Linked DNA regions of Homo sapiens: region 1 is linked to region 2. Evidence: promoter capture Hi-C in 16 types of primary human blood cells and fetal thymus (Javierre and others, 2016). All regions are on one chromosome and are shown on one strand. Each heading gives the region's core, a stretch centred on a gene start or on the middle of the fragment in contact. The rest is flanking DNA. Distances are from core to core; before and after follow the strand shown. Region 1 holds the start of NOTCH1 (notch receptor 1). Region 2 holds the start of RABL6 (RAB, member RAS oncogene family like 6).

Region 1 (3,337 bases), core at 390-2,889, 260 kb before region 2:
GGGGGAAAAGCAGAGACAAAGTGGGCTACTCTCCAAAGCGTTGCCCCCCACCCTGGAGGCTCACTGAGGAGTCTGGCAGGGCAGGGCCCCCCATCCAGCCGCCGAGATTGCCTCTGTTCAAACCCGTTCTGCAAGGGGGCAGAGCTGGACGGGGGGAGGGGGGGTGGCCACACTCAGCTCCCGCCCGTGGGAAAATGCGACAGCTGCTCGCCCGCTACCCCGCCCGCCAACAAAGCGCCGGCCTCCGCCTCAGAATCAGAGCGGCCCATTGTGGAGTCGGGGCCGCCTCCAGGGGCACCGGGACAGCACCCTGGGGACGCGGCCCCGCCTCCGCCGACACCCAATACCTGCCTCCGCGGGCGCGCATCTCCAGGGCAGCCCCCATACACCCACAGGAGGGGGATGAAGGTCCCCCATTCGGAAGGAATTCGACCCCATCTCGAGAAGGGATCAATTACTCAAGCCCCTCCCTCCCCATCTTACCGGGGCTGAGAAACGGGGGAGGGGGGTGTGACACAGAGCCGCACTTTCTGGAAGAGGACAGATAATTCTCGCCTCCAACTCTCGGAGAAAGAGTGGATTAATCACTCGATTCCCCAGAGACCCCGCTCGCTGTGCGGCGGGGAGAAATGTAAGAGCCCCCCACCCGCGTCCCGCTCTCCGCCCCCAAGCTTTCCAAACTTCAACTCCGCAAAGCAAAAGGAAAGTTCAGTCCCCCCGGGCGCGGCGGCTTCTTACGCAACCCCTCCCCCAAACTGAGAGCCGGGCTGGGGGGCACCGGCGGGCGGGGCGACCGGGAGCCCGGGGACCCAGCCCGGCCGCGCGGGTCAGTGAAGGCGAACGCGGCGCCGCAGAGCCCACACTCCGCGCCCCAACATCCGCCCCGGCGTGGGCCAGAGGCGAAGAAGAAAGAAGATAAATGGCCCGGAGAAGCAACAGGAAACCAAAACCGACTCTATTCAAATCGAAAAATAGTAGGCAGCCCGCCCGCCCGGCCGACCGGCGGCAAGCCCCACGCGCGGCGGGTGAAGGGCGGGCCCGGAGTAGGGCCTCCGGGGCCCCAGCACCCCACACCGGCCTCCTAACTCGGCTCCAGGCACGGGCGGCGCGAGTCCGCCTCCACGGGGGGATCGAGGGGGAAGGTCGGTCCTCCCTGATCCCGGGACTCCAGAACCCCACGCCCCGGGCCGCCCGCTTTTCCCTCTCCATGCTGGCCTCCCCGCCGCCCGCTCCCAGCCGTGGGGCGCGCGCGCCGGGCGCCGCCAAAGTTTCCAAAGGGCGCGGAAAGTGGGGGCTCGCGGGTGGGTGGGCGCCTACCTCGTGCGGCGAGCGCGGGCAGCAGCGCCAGGCAGAGCAGGGGCGCCAGGAGCGGCGGCATGCCTCCCCACCGGCTGCCCTCTGCGCCCGGGCGGCGGCCTCCTGCGCTGGCCGGCGGGGCTGGGACGCACACGCGCGGCGTACGGTCCCGGGGCGGCGGCGGACGGTCCCGCCCTCTCTTCCCCGGCTGGCTGGCGGCGCTGTGCTCTCGCAGGCCCCCGGGCCCGGCTCCGCGCCCGGCTCGTTCCTTCGCTGCGCTCGCGCCCGCGCCCGCGCCCCGCGCCCCGCGCCCTTGCGCTCCCTCCCGCGGCCGAGGCACTAGTGAGGCTCAGAGTCGAGGTGCGCTCCGCCCCCGCCGGCCCCGCCCCGCCCGGCCCCACCCCCGCCGGTCCCCCCGCCCCCTCCGCGGCCACCTCCTCCCGCACGCCCCGTCCGCCTTTGCGCCTCCCCGAGCTGAGCCGCGCGTCCCGAGCCCAGCCTCTCCGGGGAGGAGGGACCCGGCGGCGCGGCGTGGGTCGGGAGCGGGCGCCTGGGACTACTTCTCGTTTGAAAGTTTTCAGAGGCCAAAAGTTTGAGCCGGGGCTGCGGAAGGATCCGGCTCTGGCGGTTGCCGCGCTCGGCGACAACTGGCGACTGAAATTTGCATGTGAATAAGCGGAGGAGCCCGGGGCGGAATGGGGAGGGCGAGGCCGCGGACAGCCGTGTGCACCGTGCGCTGGGCCGGGCGGGGAGCAGCTGAGGCCACGTTGGGGGACCCCGGGCCCGGGGCAGGGCTCTGGGAGAGTGGCCTAGCCGTGTGTGCGCCCCTAGCCCAGCGGCTTCACTCCCTCCCGAGGGCCCCGTGGCCGCGGCTTTAGGCGTCCAGAGGATCGATCGCCGCCAGACATCCCTGGCCGTGATTGCCCGAGCACTTGACCGCGAGGGATGGGGGCGCCGCGGCCTCTGGGCAGGGGACTCCGGGCGCCCCGAGGGAGCAGCCGGGACCAGTGCCTCGCGGACGGATTGTGCCCCGCTCCCCCAAGGGGGACCCGCGTCGACACGCTCCTCGGTCACCGTCCTCCTCCTGCCCGGGCGCCGCCTGCCTAAGGTGGCCCCAGAAAGCACAAACGGGTCGGGCGGATCTGCCGCTGGCGCCGGCGCAGCCCTTCCCACGTGCTCCTTCCGGCTGATTTATTTCTCCACCACGATGCCAGGCACGGGCACCCTGTGCCAAGCCTGGTTAAGCGCCAGGAGTCCAAAATGCCTGCCATAGTCCCTGCGCAAAGTTCACGGCCTCGTGCCAGGGACAGACAGCGCCCCCTCCCCACCCCAACACAGGGTGGTGAGTGCGATGGCAGAAGGCGCGTGTCCCGGCGCCCCTCCTGGAGTAGGAGGGCTAAGCCTGCCCTGCGGGGAGACCGAAAGGCTGGGAGGGACCTAGGACTGTGGGGGCCTGGGGGGAGGGCTGCAGAAACCCCAGAGCATGGTGGCAGAGGCAGGCACAGAAAGCAGGACAAATCTCACACCTGACCCCAGCAAGCCTTTCCTGGCACACCTCTTGCCAAATGCTGAGCACTCTGGAAACAGCCAGTGCAGGCGGCCTGTCCCGCCCCTGTAGCTGCTGCTGGGAGCCTCCCTCGCCTGCGTCCTCCCAGAATCTGGCCTCACTTCTGCAGGCCTGGGGTAACATCTTGGGGTCAGCGCCCCAGGAGAGGAGGCGCCTGGAGGCAGCAGAGATGTTTATGTAACAGCAGCCAGGCAGCCTGGAGGAGCAGATTTTCCATAGAAGGAAGCGCGGGGCTGTGCAGCTCCCAGGCTGAGGACTCTGCCCACCACGACGTCCTCTGCTCCTGGTGGGTGGGGGTGGGGTGGGGCATAGGGAGGCCCGAAGGCCTCAGGCCTGGTGCTGATCGGGTGCGGGTGCGACTGCCTGTGTGCCTCCATTGGCATCTCTGCCTGTGGGCCCCAGGCCAGAAGTAATGGCCCATGTAGCCCAGGCCCGGGGGCCAGTCCTCAGCATTTTGCGGAGGGGCGGCCTGGG
Region 2 (3,065 bases), core at 1-2,500:
ACACACCAGGTCCCTGGGCAGGGCCAGAGGGGAGATGAGACCCTCCTCCCGGCCTACAGAGAGAAGTGGTGCTCTCCAACACCCTCGATTTGAACAGCAAGCTGGCGTACTGCGAGGGGAAGCTCACGTACCTGGCTGACAGAGTGCAGATGGTGTCCAGGACCGAGGAGGTAGCCCCGGGCTGGGAGGAACCTGCACAGCCCACGTCCCCTCAAAGCTGACAGGCTCCCGTTCAGAGTGTCTGCACGGCTGAAGGGGGCTTTGCCCTGCAGGGCGACACAAAGGTGAGGGACACCCTGGAGTCCTCGACTCTGATGGAGAAGTACAACACCAGGATCAGCTTTGAGAACCGGGAGGAGGATATGATCGGTACAGGCCCCGGAACTGGGGCCCGGGCTGCAGGCGGGTGGCTGGAACACAGGTCGGGGTGGCGCCGGCTCCCATCCCACCGGGACATCCTGGAGGGACAGCGGGGCTACAGGGTGCATCAGTTGTACCTGCAGGACTTTAATTGATGGAGGTGACTTAGTGATGCCATGGGGAGGCTAAAGCCACTGAAATACCTTGTTAATTTCTCCGAAAGGAGGAGGCATGCCATGCCAGACGGGCCCGGAGGAGAGGCACCAGGGCTGGAGCAGGGAGGAGCGCGGTGAAGGCCTGGGCCGGAGCTTCCACTGGGGGTTCTGCGGGAAAGGCTAGGCAGGGCAGCGTGAGCCGCTGCGAATGGGCTGGGCTGAGTCCTCCCGGCACGCTGGGGCTGTCCCTGGGGCAAGGCACCTGGCCCGGGTCGGTGGAGGGCGGGGGCGAGAGGCGGGTCGGGCGGCTGCGCCTAGCTGGGCTAGCCCCGTGTGCGAGCCGCCGCCTCCGCCCGCAGACACCTTCCAGTTCCCCGACATGGACCACAGCTACGTCCCTTCGCGCGCCGAGATCAAGAGGCAGGCGCAGCGGCTAATCGAGGGGAAGCTCAAGGCGGCCAAGAAAAAGAAGAAGTAGCCCCGCCGCCCCGCTCCCTGCTTTGCTACACAAATAAACATTTTTCCAGGACTGCTGCGGACGCTGGGGCGACCGGGGTCTCGGAGAGGAGCACGGGACACGCAGGATCGGGGGAGGTTCTGCGTAAGGAGGCAGCCCGGGCCCGGAACTGCGCGCCAGAACCGCGTGCGCATGCGCCGACCGCGCGCGCCGCGCCCCCGCGGCCCTCGCGGCGCCCCGTAGCCGCGCACCCCTCCCGTCCCGCCGAGCCGGCGCCAAGATGGCGGCGCTGACTCCTGGAGAGCGGTCGCGCCGGAGGCCGCGGGGGCCGGAGCGGAGCAGCCGCGGCTGAGGTTCCCGAGTCGCCGCTCGGGGCTGCGCTCCGCCGCCGGGACCCCGGCCTCTGGCCGCGCCGGCTCCGGCCTCCGGGGGGGCCGGGGCCGCCGGGACATGGTGCCAGTCGCACCCCTTCCCCGCCGCCGCTGAGCTCGCCGGCCGCGCCCGGGCTGGGACGTCCGAGCGGGAAGATGTTTTCCGCCCTGAAGAAGCTGGTGGGGTCGGACCAGGCCCCGGGCCGGGACAAGAACATCCCCGCCGGGCTGCAGTCCATGAACCAGGCGTTGCAGAGGCGCTTCGCCAAGGGGGTGCAGTACAACAGTGAGTGCGGCGGGCCGGGGGGGCGCGGGAGCGCCGCGCGGGTCTCCGAACCCAGGCCCCGGGCGCCGCGCGGTGGTGGGTGTCGGTCTCACCTGCTTGCCGGTTGTGGGGTGCGCTGGGCCCGCCGGGCGCTCCGGGAGCGGGGGCGCGGGCCAGGGGACGCGAGGAGAGGCCAGGCCAGGGCCGGGTCCTCGCGGCCCCCGAGCCGCGGGTCGTTTCCCAGCCGCACTCGCCTGCCGCGTGTCGCTCCCGCCGCGCTGTGCAGTGGAGCGGGTCGGCGGCGGCGGGGTTGGCCCGGCTGCCCGGCCCGGGGGTGATTACATAATGCCAAGCAGGGCCCGCCGGCCCGGGGCGCCGCGCCCCCGACGCTCCACGGTGCCCAGCCCCGGGCACCACTCACCTGCAGGAGGTGCGGGGAACCCAGCCGGCCTTGGCGCTTTCAGCGGGATTTTTCTTTGTTGACTTCCTACTGAGTTTGAAGACAGAATATTAGCTACGCCACACATTCTCGCCTTTTTTTTTAAAAGAAGCGTTTGTAAGAGACGTATCTAGAAAAGCTCCAGAAGGCACGGGCTGACTTGCGACTGTAGGAGACATCCCATTTCTCGTAGGAAGGAGGAGTCATTTACGGACTCCTGAGTGCCTGGGACGCTCCATTCCTTTGTTATAAATTGTGTAAATTGTCCTCGACCTCTTATGAGTTTTTCCATCTTGCGGGCTCTTTCCCAGTAGTTTTTGAAAGCTTTTATGTGGTTCCCTGTTTTGACATTGCTTCCCTCTTAGCCATTTCCGTATGTTTCTATGAGGTTTTAGGACGCTACGCCTATCCAGTTTTTTGGTCACTTTAAGGGGAGCCTTAGAGCCTCCGTGATATTTCCATGGTAATGTAGAATTTTAAGAACTAATGATCAGAAAGACTCTTGTGCAGGTTTAAAAGCAAGTTCATGAATTCGCGTGCCGTGTGCACGGAGAGAGGCCGTAGTTCCTGGGGCTGGAGCTAGTCCAGGAGGACAGTGAAGATGTCGCCTTCCTTAGTCCCCCGGCCTGTGAGCAAGAGGAAGCTGCAGACCACTCGGGCCACCCTCACCCAGACACCTTTAGCAGTAAGCAAGATAAAACAACTTCTTAAAGATAAGTCTGAGCATCTAGGTATGAAAGTTGGTGTCCGGGCCGGGCACGGTGGCTCATGCCTGTAATCCCAGCACTTTGGGAGGCCAAGGCGGGCAGATCACGAGGTCAGGAATTCGAGACCAGCCTGGCCAACATAGTGAAACACCGTCTCTACTAAAAATACGAAAAAAAAATTTAAAAGAAAGTTGATGTCCGAACCAAGGGCCGTATTGGCTTTTCTTATACTCTAGAACATACGACGACAAAGAAGATTTTGATGAAGTTCAAATTAGAGTCAGCGTGCTCATCAGAAAGAAAGCGCAGCC

The links. The method cuts DNA at HindIII sites, captures the fragments that hold promoters and counts their contacts. A CHiCAGO score of 5 or more calls a contact.
Region 1: the fragment with the promoter of NOTCH1 here is called in contact with the fragment with the promoter of RABL6 in region 2 in 1 of 17 cell types (fetal thymus); the score reaches 5.2 in fetal thymus.

Annotation. Positions count from the first base shown.
Region 1 is chr9:136,544,409-136,547,745 of GRCh38, forward strand. NOTCH1 (notch receptor 1) reads right to left here and starts at 1,640. Exons shown (of 34, transcript NM_017617.5): 1 at 1,318-1,640. The coding sequence starts at 1,378. It overlaps MIR4674 (microRNA 4674), which reads right to left and starts at 1,851; the gene lies at 1,765-1,851. RefSeq lists enhancers at 475-524, 2,497-3,337 and silencers at 755-804, 1,025-1,284, 1,305-1,864, 2,205-2,304. The HindIII fragment of the contact is 3,030 bases long and covers 670-3,337 here.
Region 2 is chr9:136,806,698-136,809,762 of GRCh38, forward strand. RABL6 (RAB, member RAS oncogene family like 6) reads left to right here and starts at 1,251. Exons shown (of 15, transcript NM_024718.5): 1 at 1,251-1,629. The coding sequence starts at 1,500. It overlaps CCDC183 (coiled-coil domain containing 183), which reads left to right. Exons shown (of 14, transcript NM_001039374.5): 12 at 60-170; 13 at 273-369; 14 at 875-1,044. The coding sequence ends at 993. It overlaps CCDC183-AS1 (CCDC183 antisense RNA 1), which reads right to left and starts at 2,151. Exons shown (of 5, transcript NR_024580.1): 1 at 2,030-2,151; 2 at 132-505. It also overlaps the pseudogene LOC100422233. RefSeq lists enhancers at 195-790, 791-1,387 and silencers at 663-892, 1,093-1,262, 1,313-1,372, 1,393-1,522, 1,533-2,062. The HindIII fragment of the contact is 3,360 bases long and covers 1-2,369 here.